2 separate regions of the Homo sapiens genome follow, and region 1 is linked to region 2. Evidence: promoter capture Hi-C in human tissues and cell types (Jung and others, 2019). All regions are on one chromosome and are shown on one strand. The core of a region is centred on a gene start or on the middle of the fragment in contact, and the rest is flanking DNA. Distances in the headings are between cores, read along the strand shown. Region 1 overlaps BICRA (BRD4 interacting chromatin remodeling complex associated protein). Region 2 holds the start of EHD2 (EH domain containing 2).

Region 1 (6,626 bases), core at 2,377-4,876, 50 kb after region 2:
TGAACGGGAACTTCCTGGGGAGAGGGAAACAGTCCGTGTTGTGACCAAGGTGTGGTTATGTGAGTGTTCAGAATTTAACAGCTCGGATTTGTGTGTTTCAACACAGGAAAATTTTACTTCAAAGAAGTAAAAAGGAGGGAGGCATGGTTAGCTCACACCTGTAATCCCAGCCAAGGCAGGGAAGCTGAGGCAGGAGGATGGCTTAAACTCAGGAGTTGGAGAACCAGCCTAGGCAACACAGCAAGATCTCATCTCTACAAAAAAATTTAAAATTAGCCAGGGGGTGGTGGTGGGCACCTGTGGTCCAATCTACTCGGGAGGCTGAGGTGGGAGAATTACTTGAGCTACAGAGGCCAAGGCTGCAGTGAACCAAGATTGCACCACCACACTCCAGCCTGGGCGACAGAGTGAGACTCCATTTCAAAAAGAAAAGAAGGCCGGGCGTGGTGGCTCACACCTGTAATGCCAGCACTTTGGGAGGGCGGGGTGGGAGGATCAACTGAGGTCAGGAGTTCAAGACCAGCCTGGTCAACATGATGAAACCTTGTCTCTACTAAAATACAAAACAGCTGGGTGTGGTGGCACATGCCTGTAATCCCAGTTACTCCGCAGGCTGAGGCAGGAGAATTGCTTGAACCCAGGAGGCAGAGGCTGCAGTGAGCTGAGATTGCGCCACTGCACTCCAGCCTGGATGACAGAGCTCAAAAAAAAAAAGAAGAAAAAGAAAAAGAAAAAAAGAAATTGGGCGAGGGGCTGGGGTTACTGCCTGTGCATGCTCACAGCAGGAATCAAGTGCACCTTGACTGATTCTGAGGCTCCCATCCCTGGGCTGCCACTTCCCGTTCCCAGCCGTGTACCCTAAGACAAGTTACTTATCCCCTCTGTGCCTCCGTTTGGGGAGGATAACACTACGTCCTCCATGGGACTGTTACATAGGAACACCTCTAATCCATGCCCTAAAGTACTTTGTAAGCAGTGTGTACGCTAGTTGTGATCATTTTAATTGCCACTGTTGATGCTATCTAATGGGGCGACTCCCAGAGCTTTTGGGCCACAGCCCAGTGAGGCTGGACAGAAGTCCCCGGCCCCACTTTGGTGCTGTTTGCCGCACATGGCCTGTGTGTGTATCTGGAAGGGTTAACAGATCTCCTGCTTCAGCCAGGTACCAGGGTTCTTTGAATCCTTCCAAACACCCTGGTATTACCCCCATTTTCCAGATGAGATAAACGCAATGGAAAACAGCAGTTTTGGGGGCGCTGCGGCACCTGCACTGTGTGCACCCTCACCAGGCCAGCTAGGTGTCTTGCTGCTCTCAACCCAGAAGGCAGGGGAAGCCTTTCAAGACACACATGAAGATTAAAAAAAAACAAAACAACCAGCCAGACATGGTGTTGCACACCGGTAATCCCAGCTACTCAGGAGACTGAGGCAGGAGAATTGCTTGAACCCAGGAGTTCGAGGCTGCAGTGAGCTGTGATCGTGCCACTGCACTCCAGCCTGGGCAAGACAGCGAGACCCCATCCCAAAAAAAACAAAACCAAAACTTTAACATCAAATATCATATATCCGTCTGATGGTTTGGTTGTTTACTGTGTGTCTCCTCTACCGAAATGTCCCCCAGGACAGGAACTTTTGCTTGTTTTGTCCTCTGCAAGATCCCTGGGGCTGGCACATTATGTGGCATACAGTAGGAGCTCAATAAATATCTGTGGGATGAATGAATGAATTTGCAGAGGAAATTAAACAAATCCTTTCATTTATTCAAGAGGCAACCTGCTGAAATGTACATTTAGTAGGCACCTACTGTGTGTCTGGTGGGGGGTGCTGAGGACAGCAAAAGGGCAGAGGCAGACCCCATCCCTGGCTTGGGGAGCACAGCTGGTGGTTCTCAGCCAGGGAGGGTGCTGGAGACCTCTCCCCTACCCCCCACACTCAGAAACTTTTGAAACAGTGACTGAGGTTGCAGAGTGGGGGGGCGGGGGGGTGGGGGTTGAAAACTAGTATGCAGGGTTGCGGACCCAAAATTGTCACCAGCACCCTGGAGACAAGCCCTGGTGTGGCACACTGGCTTTTTAACCATCTGTCCGCTGCCCCCCACCCAGTGGGCCTGCTCCTACGGAAAGATTCTCCTTCCATGAGATGGAGTGGGCGCACTGTGTCTGTTCAGAGCAGAAGCTTCAAGAGCCATCACATAGTTCCCCTGAGTTCCAGAACAGGGCGGACATGTGGCCAGAGCCACAGCCAACCCCCCACGGGCACACACACGAGCGAGAAGCCAGCCTCTGCCACCACGGACCACTGCGACCCGGGCCCACTCGTCACTGTGGCATCACACAGCCGAAGCTGCCTGGCACACCCTGAAGAGCCCGCATTGCCTGAGTGCTTCCGGGTACCAGCCCCTGTGCTTACTCCATACCCACCGATCCCTCCCCATCCCCACGGAAGCACTGCTGATGCACATCTTACAGGAAAAGGAGACTCGGAGGTGGTCAGGACACTTGCCCCAGATCGCACCATGGGACCAGAATTTGAACTCAGACCCTGTGATTCTGAAGACCTCACTCTTCACCACCACACTATAAAAAGCAGGAAAGGCCGGGCCTGAAAACCACAACCAGCTCCAGAGAACAGCCATGACGCAACAATGACACAGTGTCCTTCCAGAAAATTGTGTGAATTCCTCCTCCACTTGTAATGCAATCGGAGTTTTGCGCTGTCATCAGGAGCTGTGCAGAAGCCAGGCTGCTAGCAGGATACGGAATTAAAAGGGCCAGCTAAGCTCCACAAACAGGCGAATTTTAATTTCCCAATATAAATTGGAGTAACCTCAGGTTGCCTGCCAGTAATACAAAGTCTCCAGAACGATATCATTTGCTGATAAGAAGTGCAAATGATGTGGCAAAGTCTATCTGTTGCTTTTCAAAACACCATTTCCCCACCTCTCCTCCTCCGCTCGCAGAAGCCTGACTCTGTGCAGGGTTAACACTTGCCAACGCTAAGATGTAAACAAAGACTGTTCTAGGCCAGTCTTTCTCAAACTATGGGTCATGCCTTTGAAGGTTGTGAAATCAAATTAGCAGGTTGTGACCAGGAACTGCTTTAAATAATTAAAATGCATGGAATGGAATGGAATGGAAGACATTAACGTGTATCATACATGGTAAGAGTGAGTATTTGAGAAATTGGTTTCAATAATGTGTGTGTGTGTGTGTGTGTGTACTGCGACACAAAGAAACATATTTTGGACTGTGAGTTGTGGTCAAAATAGCCTTAAAATAATTGAACTAAGCCAGAGGCATTCCTATCTCCTTTATCAGACACTCACTTTCCCAGCCTTTCTTGCAGTTAGAGTAACCACAGTTGTGCAAATAGTAAAAACTGAAGTGTACAGACAGGTTCTGCTCAGTGAGACTTTCAGGGAAAGTTTTCCTTCCAGAATACAAAGACAGAGTTTCTCCAGAAAGACAGTCTTTTGCTCCTGCTTCCAGTTTTGAATACAGTTGAGATGACTAGAGCTGTGGCAGCCATTTTGCAACCACGGGACAACAAACCTGAGGCTGAAAAGCCCACCAGCAGAGGATGGTTGATGGGAGCTGACAAAAAGACCGTGTTCTTTTTTTTCTTTTGAGACGGAGTCTCGCTCTGTCACCCAGGCTGGAGTGCAGTGGCGCAATCTTGACTCACTGCAACCTCCGCCTCCCAGGTTCAAGTGACTCCTGCCTCAGCCTCCTGAGTAGCTGGGATTAGAGGCACGTGCCACCACACCCGGCTAATTTTTGTATTTTTAGTAGAGACAGGGTTCACCACGTTAGCCAGGCTGGTCTTGAACTCCTGACCTCTAGTGATCCACCCGCCTCAGCCTCCCAAAGTGCTGGGATTTCAGGCGTGAGCCATCGCGCCGGCCTGACTGTACTCTTCATAACTCTTCATGGGCTGCCCGCCTCCAAACTTGTTAATCCTTATGGTTTAAGCCACTATGTGGTTTCCCATTATTTGCAGACAAATACAACCTGACGCAAAAAGAGCTCCCATTTCTGGATTTTCTTTGCAACCCATGGCAAGGCCTCTCACATGGGTCAAGGGCTGTTCTTTGTGGGTCACTGATTAAGAAGAGAGGTCAAACAAAATGTGAGAGGGCTGGTGGAAAGGGGATCTGAAACAAAGGCCACTGTGGTTGATTGCAAAGTGGCCAGAAATTCTCCTCCCTCGTCCCACACTCTTTGCAGCTCCTCCTATTAAGAAGTGGGGTCTATGACTTCAGCCCTTGACCCTGGGCTGGCTTCTTGACTTGCTTTGGCCAACAGAATGTGGTGAAAGTGATGGTGTGTGATTCTTTTTTTGAGATGGAGTCTTGCTCTTGTTGCCCAGGCTGGAGTGCAGTGGCATGATCTCGGCTCACTGCAACCTCCACCTCCCGGGTTCAAGCGATTCTCCTGCCTCAGCCTCCTGAGTAGCTGGGATTACAGGTGCGTGCCACCACACCCGGCTAATTTTTGTATTTTTAGTAGAGACGGGGTTTCACCATGTTGGTCAGGCTGGTCTTGAACTGACCTCGTGATCTGCCCGCCTCGGCCTCCCAAAGTGCTGGGATTACAGGCATGAGCCAAGGAGCCTGGCCGATGGTGTGTGATTCTGAGCCTGGCACACTTCCAGTCTTTGCCCAGCTGCCAGGTGAAGAAGCCCAGGCTGGCCTGCAAGAGGATGAGAGCCACGTGCCCATCACCCCATCACCCCAGCTAACAGCCAGCCAAGCCCTAGACGCAGTCACCAGCTGTCCAACAGCTGACTACAGACACCCAGCCCAGGCCAGAAGCACCTAGCTACGCCCAGTCCAAATTCTAACCGTTGGGATCATGGTTTTCTTTTTTCTGTTTATTATTATTTTGATTTTCTGAGACAGGGTCTCGCTCTGTTGGCCAGGATGGACTGCAGTGGTGTAATCACAGCTCACTGCAGCCTTGACTTCCTGGGCTCCAGGGATCCTCCCACCTTAGTTTCCTGAAGAGCTGGGACTATAGGCGCACGCCACCACACCTGGTTAATTCTTTGCAGAGACGGGGTCCCACTATGTTGCCCAGGCAGGTCTCAAATGCCTGGGCTCAAGCGATCCTCCCATCTTGACCTCCCAAAGTGCTGGGATTACAGACATGAGCCACTGTGCCCAGCCAGGGCTGTGTGTTATGTAGTGACAGCTCACTGATACAGCTCTCTCTGGGGACTTAGGAACCAAGTTTGACCCCACATCTGACTCATCCAAGTTTTATCCATCCCACCTCCCATATCTCTCCAGTCAGTGCCCTCCTGTCCATGACCACTATTCTGGCCCAAATGTAGTAAATGTATTTTCTCATCACCAAGCCTGGGTTCACATTTGGCTTATTGACATCTGGCTGCTCCTGCCATTAAAATACTCAAAAGCTGACCTACCGATTGGTAAATAAATGCTGCCCAAGCAGCCTCAGCTCCTCCTATATGCCTGCCCCACACTGGACACCGAGATGCCATGTGTAAACGACCATAGAAAGCCCTCCTCCCCGGCCCGGCTCCCTCTGGCCTCTGCTCCTCCCCGCGAACCCCCTTCCTCGCTGGCCACCGACTGGACCTGCCCCAACTACGAGTCCAACCTCTGCCTGGGCCACGTGGCTATGAGCCCTGGTGTTTGGGAGTCTGGGCATTTGATGGGTCAGATTCTGTCCCATGAGCCCTTGGCTACGGCCACCTCTGACTTCATCATCTTCGTCACCCCAGCCAAGGTTGCTGAATGCTTACTAAGTACTTCGTCTTTTTTTTTTTTTTTTGAGACGGAGTCTCGCTCAGTCACCCAGGCTGGTGTGCAGTGGCGTGATTTCAGCTCACTGCAACCTCTGCCTCCCGGGTTCACGCCATTCTCCAGCCTCAGCCTCCTGAGTAGCTGGCACTACAGGCGCCACAACCACGCCCAGCTAATTTTTTGTTTTTGTATTTTTAGTAGAGACGGGGTTTCACTGTGTTAGCCAGGATAGTCTCAATCTCTTGACCTCGTGATCTGCCCGCGTCAGCCTCCCAAAGTGCTGGGATTAGAGGCGTGAGCCACCACGCCCGGCAAAGTGCTTCATCTTATCATTTCATTCTCACAGCAACACTATAAGGCAGATGCCATTATCCTCATGCCCATTACACAAATGAGGAGACTGAGGCCAAAAAGGGTTGGGTACTTGCCCAAGGTCACCCAAGAGCCAGGATTTGAACCCAGCTGAGACTCCTAAGCCCGTGGGAACTACATGATGATGCCAGCCTGGCCATCTCTCCCTCCACCCCCCACAGCAGGGGTGTACTACAACAGGTTCCCCACCTCTGCCACTCACCCGGCCAGGTCCTCTATCCCTTTAGTTGTCCTGAAATGCCTCGAATGAGTCATTCCCGTGAACCTTGGTCAGACAGACAAATGAGGTGATGTGTTCACCTGGTACGTGGACTTAACATGCTATGACGCCTAGAAGTTAAGCTCTTAGGATGTATTTCCAAGGCCTTTGTAGTGAGTTGAATGGTGGCTCCCACCACAAAAAATATGTAAACATCCCAGAACCTGTGGATGTGGCCATCCTTATTTGGAAAAAAGGGTCTTTGTAGACATAATTAGATTAACA
Region 2 (7,333 bases), core at 3,058-5,557:
CACCATGTTGGCCAGGCTGGTCTCCAACTCCTGGCCTCAAGTGATCTACCTGCCTTGGCCTCCCAAAGCGCTGGGATTACAGGTGTGAGCCACCGGGCCTGGCCCAAGGTGATTGATCCACATTTTTGCAGATGAGGCTACAAGAAGGGCAGAGAGGTCAAGTCATTTGCCTGAGGCCACCCAGCTGGCCGGGATTTGAACCAGGCATACTGACTTCACTAGCCTAGGTGCTCCCCTGGATAAGAGAGCAGAGACAGGCATGGGAAGAACTGGGTAGAGAGAAGGGAATTGGGGCTGAGAAGGAGGGAAACACAGTCAGGGAGGGGACAGAGAAGGGGGACAGCAAGATGCACCCCTGGGACAGAAAGACGTGCCCCCAGGGCCGGGCGCAGTGGCTCACTCGTGTAATCCCAACACTTTGGGAGGCTGAGGCAGGTGGATCACTTGAGGCCAGGAGTTCAAGACCAGCCAGGCCAACATGGTGAAACCCCAACTGTACCTAATAATACAAAAACTCGCTTGGCGTGGTGGTGGGTGTCTGTAATCCCAGCTACTCAGGTGGCTGAGGCAGGAGAATTGCTTGAACCCAGGAGGTGGAGGTTGCCATGAGCTGAGATCGCACCACTGCACTCCAGCCTGGGCGAAAAGAGCGGAAACTCTGTCTTAACAAAAAGAAAAAGAAAGATGCGCCCTGGGCTCGCGGCTGGCACACCTGTTGAGGAAGGTGTTTCCGAAAGGGTTGAGTTTGCGGAAGGGCTTGTCCGGGTCCACGACGAGGGCGTTGCCGGGCACGGTGCCCTCAGTGTCCCCGTGCATGACGGCCACAAAGCAGTCGGTGGTGGGCTCAGGCCCCACGCGGGAGCCGGGCACCTCCTGCTCCAGCAGGTACTGGATGAAGCTGGTCTTGCCCGTGCTGTACTGGCCGGCCACCAGCACCATGGGCTTGCCGTCGAAGTCTGCGTCCTCCAGGGCCGGCGAGTGGAAGGCCCCAAAGCGGTAGTGCTCCTCCAGCGGCAGCAGCTTCGTGCGGTACAGCTCCTTGAGGGCCGAGGTCACCGTGCGGATGGCCTCGGGCTGCTGGCCCCGTGCCCCGCCCCGCTTCAGCCAGCTGAACATGGTGGCTGCACACCGCTCACGGGGTTCACGGAGAGACGTGCAGATGGAGAGCTGCCTGTGGGAGGGGGAGAGGGCATGAGCATAGGCGGCCCAGCCAAGGAGGAAGAAAGGGGTCTGAGTGTAGACTGTCTGGGTGACAGGATGGGTGGAGGAGGAGGAGGAGCACAGATATTTGTGGTCACAAATATGTGGTCACAGAGCATGGATGGCAGGTGGCAGGAGGAAGAATGGAATTGGGCCAGGCGCGATGGCTCACACCTGTAATCCTAGTATTTTGGGAGGCTGAGGTAGGAGGATTGCTTGAGGTCAGTAGTTGAAGACCAGCCTGGGTAAAATAGTGAGACCCCCATCTCTACAAAAAAAATAATTAGCTGGGCATGGTGGTGCATGCCTGTAGTCCTAGCACTTTGGGAGGCTGAGGCAGGAGGATTGCTTGAGCTCAGGAGTTCAAGGCTGCAGGCTGCAGTGAGCTATGATCATGCCGCTGCACTCCAGCCTGGGCTACAGAGTAAGACCCCATCTCAAAAAAAAAAAAAAAAAAAAAGGCCAGGCACAGTGGCTCATGCCTGTAATCCCAGCACTTCGGGAGGCTGAGGCAGGTGGACCACCTGAGGTCAGGAGTTTGAGACCAGCCTGACCAATATGGTGCAATCCTGTCTCTACTAAACATACAAAAAATTAGCCAGGCCTGGTGGTGGCCACCTGTAGTCCCAGCTACTTGGGAGGCTGAGACAGGAGAATCACTTGAACCCAGGAGGCAGAGGTTGCAGTGAGCCGAGATCCCGCCACTGCACTTGACAGAGCGACACTCCATTTCAAAAAAAATAGGGAGATCGTAGCGAACCAGCTGAAGGAGGAGAAAGATTAATGGTGACATGGTTGAAGAAGGGGGATTGATGGTGGTAGTGGAAGACCAAGAGATGGACAAGGCGAAGGATGCAGAAGCTGCCTGGAAGAAACGGATTCCTTAATCGCTTCATTCATTTCTTCCTCCCTTCTCCCTTCCATCATTTGACACCTTTTCACTGAAATCACTCACTCCATGCTTCAGGCACTGTGGACCCAGAAATGAGCCAGAGATCATCCCCTACCCACCCAGGGCCCCCAGTAAGGACCCAGACACATGCCAGACATCCAGAGGAGGGCATGAGAAACAGACCACAGCACCAGTAAGACTCAGGGCAGGGTTGACTTTTGAGCTGCTCCATGAAGAGCAGGCAAGACAAGGGGATTTAGGCAGAGAGGACGGTGCGTGCAAAGGTCTGGGGATGTGAAAGGTCCTGGTGTACTGGGAGCCATGAAACATCTGGGTAGGTGGCCAGACACAGGGGCACAAAGAGGAGGGGTGAGAAATGGAGCTGAGAAGGTTGCCTGGGTGCACCCAGGTCATGAGGGCTGTTGGGTGTTAACAAGAAAAATAATGCAACATTTATGATCACTGCATGCCAGGTACTGTACTAACTCACTTAACATTTATAACCCTGTAAAGTAGGTCTATTATCATCCCTGCTTTGCTTTGCTTTTCTTTCTTTTTATTTATTTATTTATTTATTTATTTATTTATTTATTTATTTGGAGATGGAGTCTCACTCTGTAGCCCAAGCTGGAGTGCAGTGATACAATCTCAGCTCACTGCAGCCTTCACCTCTGGGGCTCAAGGGATTCTCCTGCCTCAGCCTCCCAAGTAGTTGGGACTAGAGGCATGCACCACCACACCCAGTTAATTTTTTTTTGTATTTTTAGTAGAGATGGGTTTCACCATGTTGCCCTGGGTGGTCTCGAACTCCTGAGCTCAGGTGATCCACCCACCTCAGCCTCCCAAATTGTTGGGATTACAGGTGTGTGCCACCATGCCGGCTCATCTCTGCTTTTTTAACAAGGCAAAGGAGGCTCAGGAAGACAGCAATAAATTACCCAAGATCACTTAGCTGGAAAATGCTCAAGCTGGGACTCAAACACAGGCAGCCTGACCTCAGAGGTTGCAATCCTATTATAGGTCTAAAGATCTGAGTTAGGGAGGTTAGCCATGACCAACCCAGGAGCAATGAGCACCTCCAGCACCCAGACTGTGTTCTCTATCTTCCCTTACTAGCCTTTTATTCACCGTAGGATCTGTAGTGATGTCCCCTCTTTCATTCCCGATATCAGCCACAGGTGTGGGTATTTGCTTTTTTTAAAAAAGAAAAACAAAAACGATTGCTCCCCGTTGATGCTTATGATTTTACTGATCTTTTCAAAGAATCAACTTTTGGTGAGATGGGAGTCTCTAAATACCATTCCCCACTAAAAGAACCTGGGACTCCTTAGAGAAATGGTGGATTCCAGGGCGGGGGCAGGGAAGAACAAGTGAGCCTGGGTCAGAAGGTGAGGAAGTGCTCAAAGGCCGATAGGGCATGTTACAGGGACAGAGGACCCAGCTTGCAGGGGTGCCCAGTGGCCAAACATGGGGCAATTTGAGCATCAAAATAACTGCAAATCAAATATGCTAAAATCCATAAAATCATGAGACTTAAAAGGGGTGGCCAGGGAGTAGGGGAGATAAAAGCAAAAGGAGTTCGTAAAGGAGTGGCAAGAATGGAAAAGAGAGGCAGGATCTGGGATGTGGGCAGAGGGAGAGGGCTCTGGGCGGTGTCCCAGGCAGGGAGGGCCCTGAGAGAGAGCTGGGGAGAATGCTATCAGCGGTGGCCGATGGAGCTGGTGAGGCAGGAGAGGGGCTCTTGAGTGGCTGGAGGGACCAAGTTAGCTGATATGGATGAGGGCGTGGAGGGAGACCCTGCAGAGAGGATCTCTTCTAGCCCAGGGGATAGGGAGGGGTGTTGGGGGAGGATGGAGGAGACTGGGGGAGTGTGAGAGGCTGCGAAAGACTGGAGGAAGAGTGGGAGGAAGAGTGGGAGGAGTGGGAAGAGTGGGGGACATGGTTACAGACTGGGGGGACTGGTGAAGACTGGGGGACACCTGGGGAGACCGTTACAGACTGGGGACAGGGTGGCAGGGAGCAGGGGTCAGGCATGAGGAACCAGGGCAGGCTTGGGCGGGGGTCGGGAGGCGACAGCTGCGGTGCTGGGAGCACTCACCGACGGGGCGCGCTGGCGGCTGCAGCGGGCTGGGCAGGCTGGGAGAGGGTGGGGTCCCGCGAGGATCCGAAGCGCCCGCGGAGCGGCCTGTGCTCGCGGTCCCGTCCGGAGCCGTCTGAGCCGGGTGGGGCCCGGAGCGGGGAGGACGGGAGGGAGGACAGGAGGGAGGGGCGGGACGAGGCGCCCCCCTCAAAACCGGGCGCCCGGCCTCTGGCGCCCCCTTGTGGGGAGTGGGGAAGACGCCTTAGCACGGCGGGCGAGAGCTCCAGCGTCCAGCCTGGGGTTCGAATTCCGCCTCCACCTCCAGCGTTGGGCTGCTCCCCAGTCTGTCTCTCTTCTTAACACGGGAATCACAACAGCAGCAGCAATAATAGTAACAATAACAGGTCGGGCGCCCTGGCTCACGCCTGTAACCCTAACACTTTGGAAGGCCAGGGTGGGAAGATTGCTTGAGGCCAGGAGTCCAAGACCAGCCTGGACAATATAGCGAGACCCCATGTCTATTAAAAATAATAATAAATAATAAAATAATTTAGCCAGGCACAGGGGTGCACACCTGTGATCCCAGCAACTTGGAAAGCTGAGGTGGGAGGATAGCTTGAACCCAGGAGGTCAAGGCTGCAGTGAGCTATGATTGTGCCACTGCACTCCAGCCTGGGTGACAGAGCGAGACCTCACCTCTAAAAAAAATAATAGGACGGGGCGCGGTGGCTCACGCCTGTAATCCCAGCACTTTGGGAGGCCGAGGCGGGTGGATCACTTGAGGTCAGGAGTTCAAGACCAGCCTGGCCAACATGGTGCAAACCCATCTCTACTAAAAATACAAAAAAATTAGCTGGGCGTGGTGGCGGGCGCCTGTAGTCCCAGCTATTTGGGAAGCTGAGGCAGGAGAATCACTTAAACACAGGGGAGGTGGAGCTTGCAGTGATTGCGCCACTGCACTCCAGCCTGGGGACAGAGCAAGACTCCATCTCAAAAATAAATAAATAAACAAAAATTAGCTGGATGCAGGCACGCACCTGTAGTCCTAGCTACTTGGGAGGCTGAGGCTCCCAAGTTCCAGAATCACTGGAACCCAGGAGGCAGAGGTTGCAGTGAGCCAAGATCACGCCACTGCACTCCAGCCTGGGTGACAGAGTGAGAATCCATCGCAAATAAATAAGTAAATATAATATTAATATTAAAACTTAAGGGAGTTGATGAAACTTCTCAGCTGACAACCCTCCCTGGCTCTCCTCTCTCTCAGAGTAAAAGCCGAAGTCCACACCAAGGCCCACAAAGCCTAGCATGATCCACCTACATCTCCCCTGTCCCCCTTCCTCAGGCGGCTCCAACCGCCGTGGCCTCCTCACCATTCCTCAGACACACCCCCAACCCTCCAAGTTCATGGCCTTTGCACTTGCTGACTCCTCTCCATGGAGTACTTTCCCCATAGGGATCTGAATGCCTCACTCTCTCCCCTCCTTCAGGTCCCTGCTCAAATGTCACCTCCTCAGAGAAGTCCTCCAGGATCACCCTGGCTAAGGTAGAACCCACTCTCTACCTCTTATCACTGCCCTATTTTTCTCCACAGCCCTCCCAACCACTCTGCATATTCCACATTTCTCTGCCTAAGGGACTGTCTTTGCCCTGAGAACATGAGCCCCGTGAGGGCTTTGCACAATGCCCAACTCCCTGCAGGGGCTCAGTAAACATTTGTAGAAACAATCCCTAATGTTGACTGAGCCATTCCTATGTGCAGGCACCGCTCTGAGCTCTTTGCATGCATGTATTAGCTCATCGAACCCTCATCATATCTCCAAGAAACAGGAGTTTTGGGGTTTTGGTTTTTGTTTTTGTTTTTGAGACAGTCTTACTCTATCGCCCAGGCTGGAGTGCAGTGGCACGATCTCAGCTCACTGCAACCTCCGCCTCCTGGGTTCAAACTATTCTCCTCCCTCAATCTCCCCAGTAGCTGGGATTACAGGTGCATGCCACCACACTTGGCTAATTTTGTTTTGTTTTGTTTTTTTGAGTCAGAGTCTCGCTCTGTCGCACAGGCTGGAGTGCAGTGGCACGATCTCGGCTCACTGCAAGCTCCGCCTCCCGGGTTCACGCCATTCTCCTGCCCCAGCCTCCCGAGTAGCTGGGATTACGGCGCCCACCACCATTCCCGGCTAATTTTTTGTATTTTTAGTACAGACAGGGTTTCACCATGTTAGCCAAGATGGTCTCGATCTCCTGACCTCGTGATCTGCCCGCCTCGGCCTCCCAAAGTGCTGGGATTATAGGCATGAGCCACTGCGCCCGGCCTAATTTTGTGTTTTTAGCAGACAAGGGGTTTCACCATGTTGGCCTGGCTGGTCTCGAACTTCTGACGTCAAGTGATTTACCCACCTCAGCTTCCCAAAGTGCTGGGATTATAGGCATGAGCCACCATGCCCAACTGAATTGTATGCTTTAAATGGGTGAATTGCATGGCTTCTGAATTATATCTCAATAAAACTGATATTATATATTATATTATTATAATTATAACATTTTATTTATTTTTTCTATTTTTTTTGGAGGTAGACTCTTGCTCTGTCACCCAGGCTGGAGTGCAGTGGCGCGATCTTGGCTCACTGCAACCTCTGCCTCCCGGGCTCAAGCGATTCTCGTGCCTCAGCCTCTCGAGTAGCTGGGATTACAGGCATGCACCAGCAGGCCCAGCCAATAACATGTTACTATAATATTACTATTATATATATAATATATAAAAGGTCTGGAGCTTAATGATAACTTACGTTAATGTTGTTACTGCTAGGAGACAGGCCCTGTTCCAAAAGCATCACCTAAATCATCTCCCTTCCCCCAGGAGGGCAAGTCCTGTTATTATTGTTATTATTATTATTATTGCTATGTCTCAGATGGGAAAGTTGAAATACAAGGAAGTAAAGTCTCAGAGCTGGGTGCAGTGGCTCATGCCTGTAATCCCAGCACTTTGGGAGGCTGGGGCAGGGGATTGCTTGAGGCTAGGAGTTCAAGACCAGCCTGGGCAACATAGTGAGACCCCATCTCTGCAAGATAAAAAAAATCTAAAAATTAGCCGAGTGTGGTGGTGCACACCTGTGGTCCCAGCTACTCGGGAGGCTGAGGTGGGAGGATTACTGGAGCCTAGGAGG

Evidence for each region. The method cuts DNA at HindIII sites, captures the fragments that hold promoters and counts their contacts. A contact is called where the count stands out against the background at its distance.
Region 1: a fragment that was not itself captured here is called in contact with the fragment with the promoter of EHD2 in region 2 in 1 of the 25 tissues and cell types used here (mesendoderm cells).

The regions. Positions count from the first base shown.
Region 1 is chr19:47,660,386-47,667,011 of GRCh38, reverse strand. All of the region lies in intron 1 of BICRA (BRD4 interacting chromatin remodeling complex associated protein), which reads right to left. Among named protein-coding and RNA genes, the nearest start is that of EHD2, 50 kb to the left of the region's middle. RefSeq lists enhancers at 5,159-5,658, 5,659-6,160. The HindIII fragment of the contact is 7,290 bases long and covers 1-6,626 here.
Region 2 is chr19:47,710,396-47,717,728 of GRCh38, reverse strand. It overlaps EHD2 (EH domain containing 2), which reads right to left and starts at 4,307. Exons shown (of 6, transcript NM_014601.4): 1 at 4,191-4,307; 2 at 713-1,171. The coding sequence starts at 1,116. RefSeq lists a silencer at 4,331-4,430. The HindIII fragment of the contact is 24,100 bases long and covers 1-7,333 here.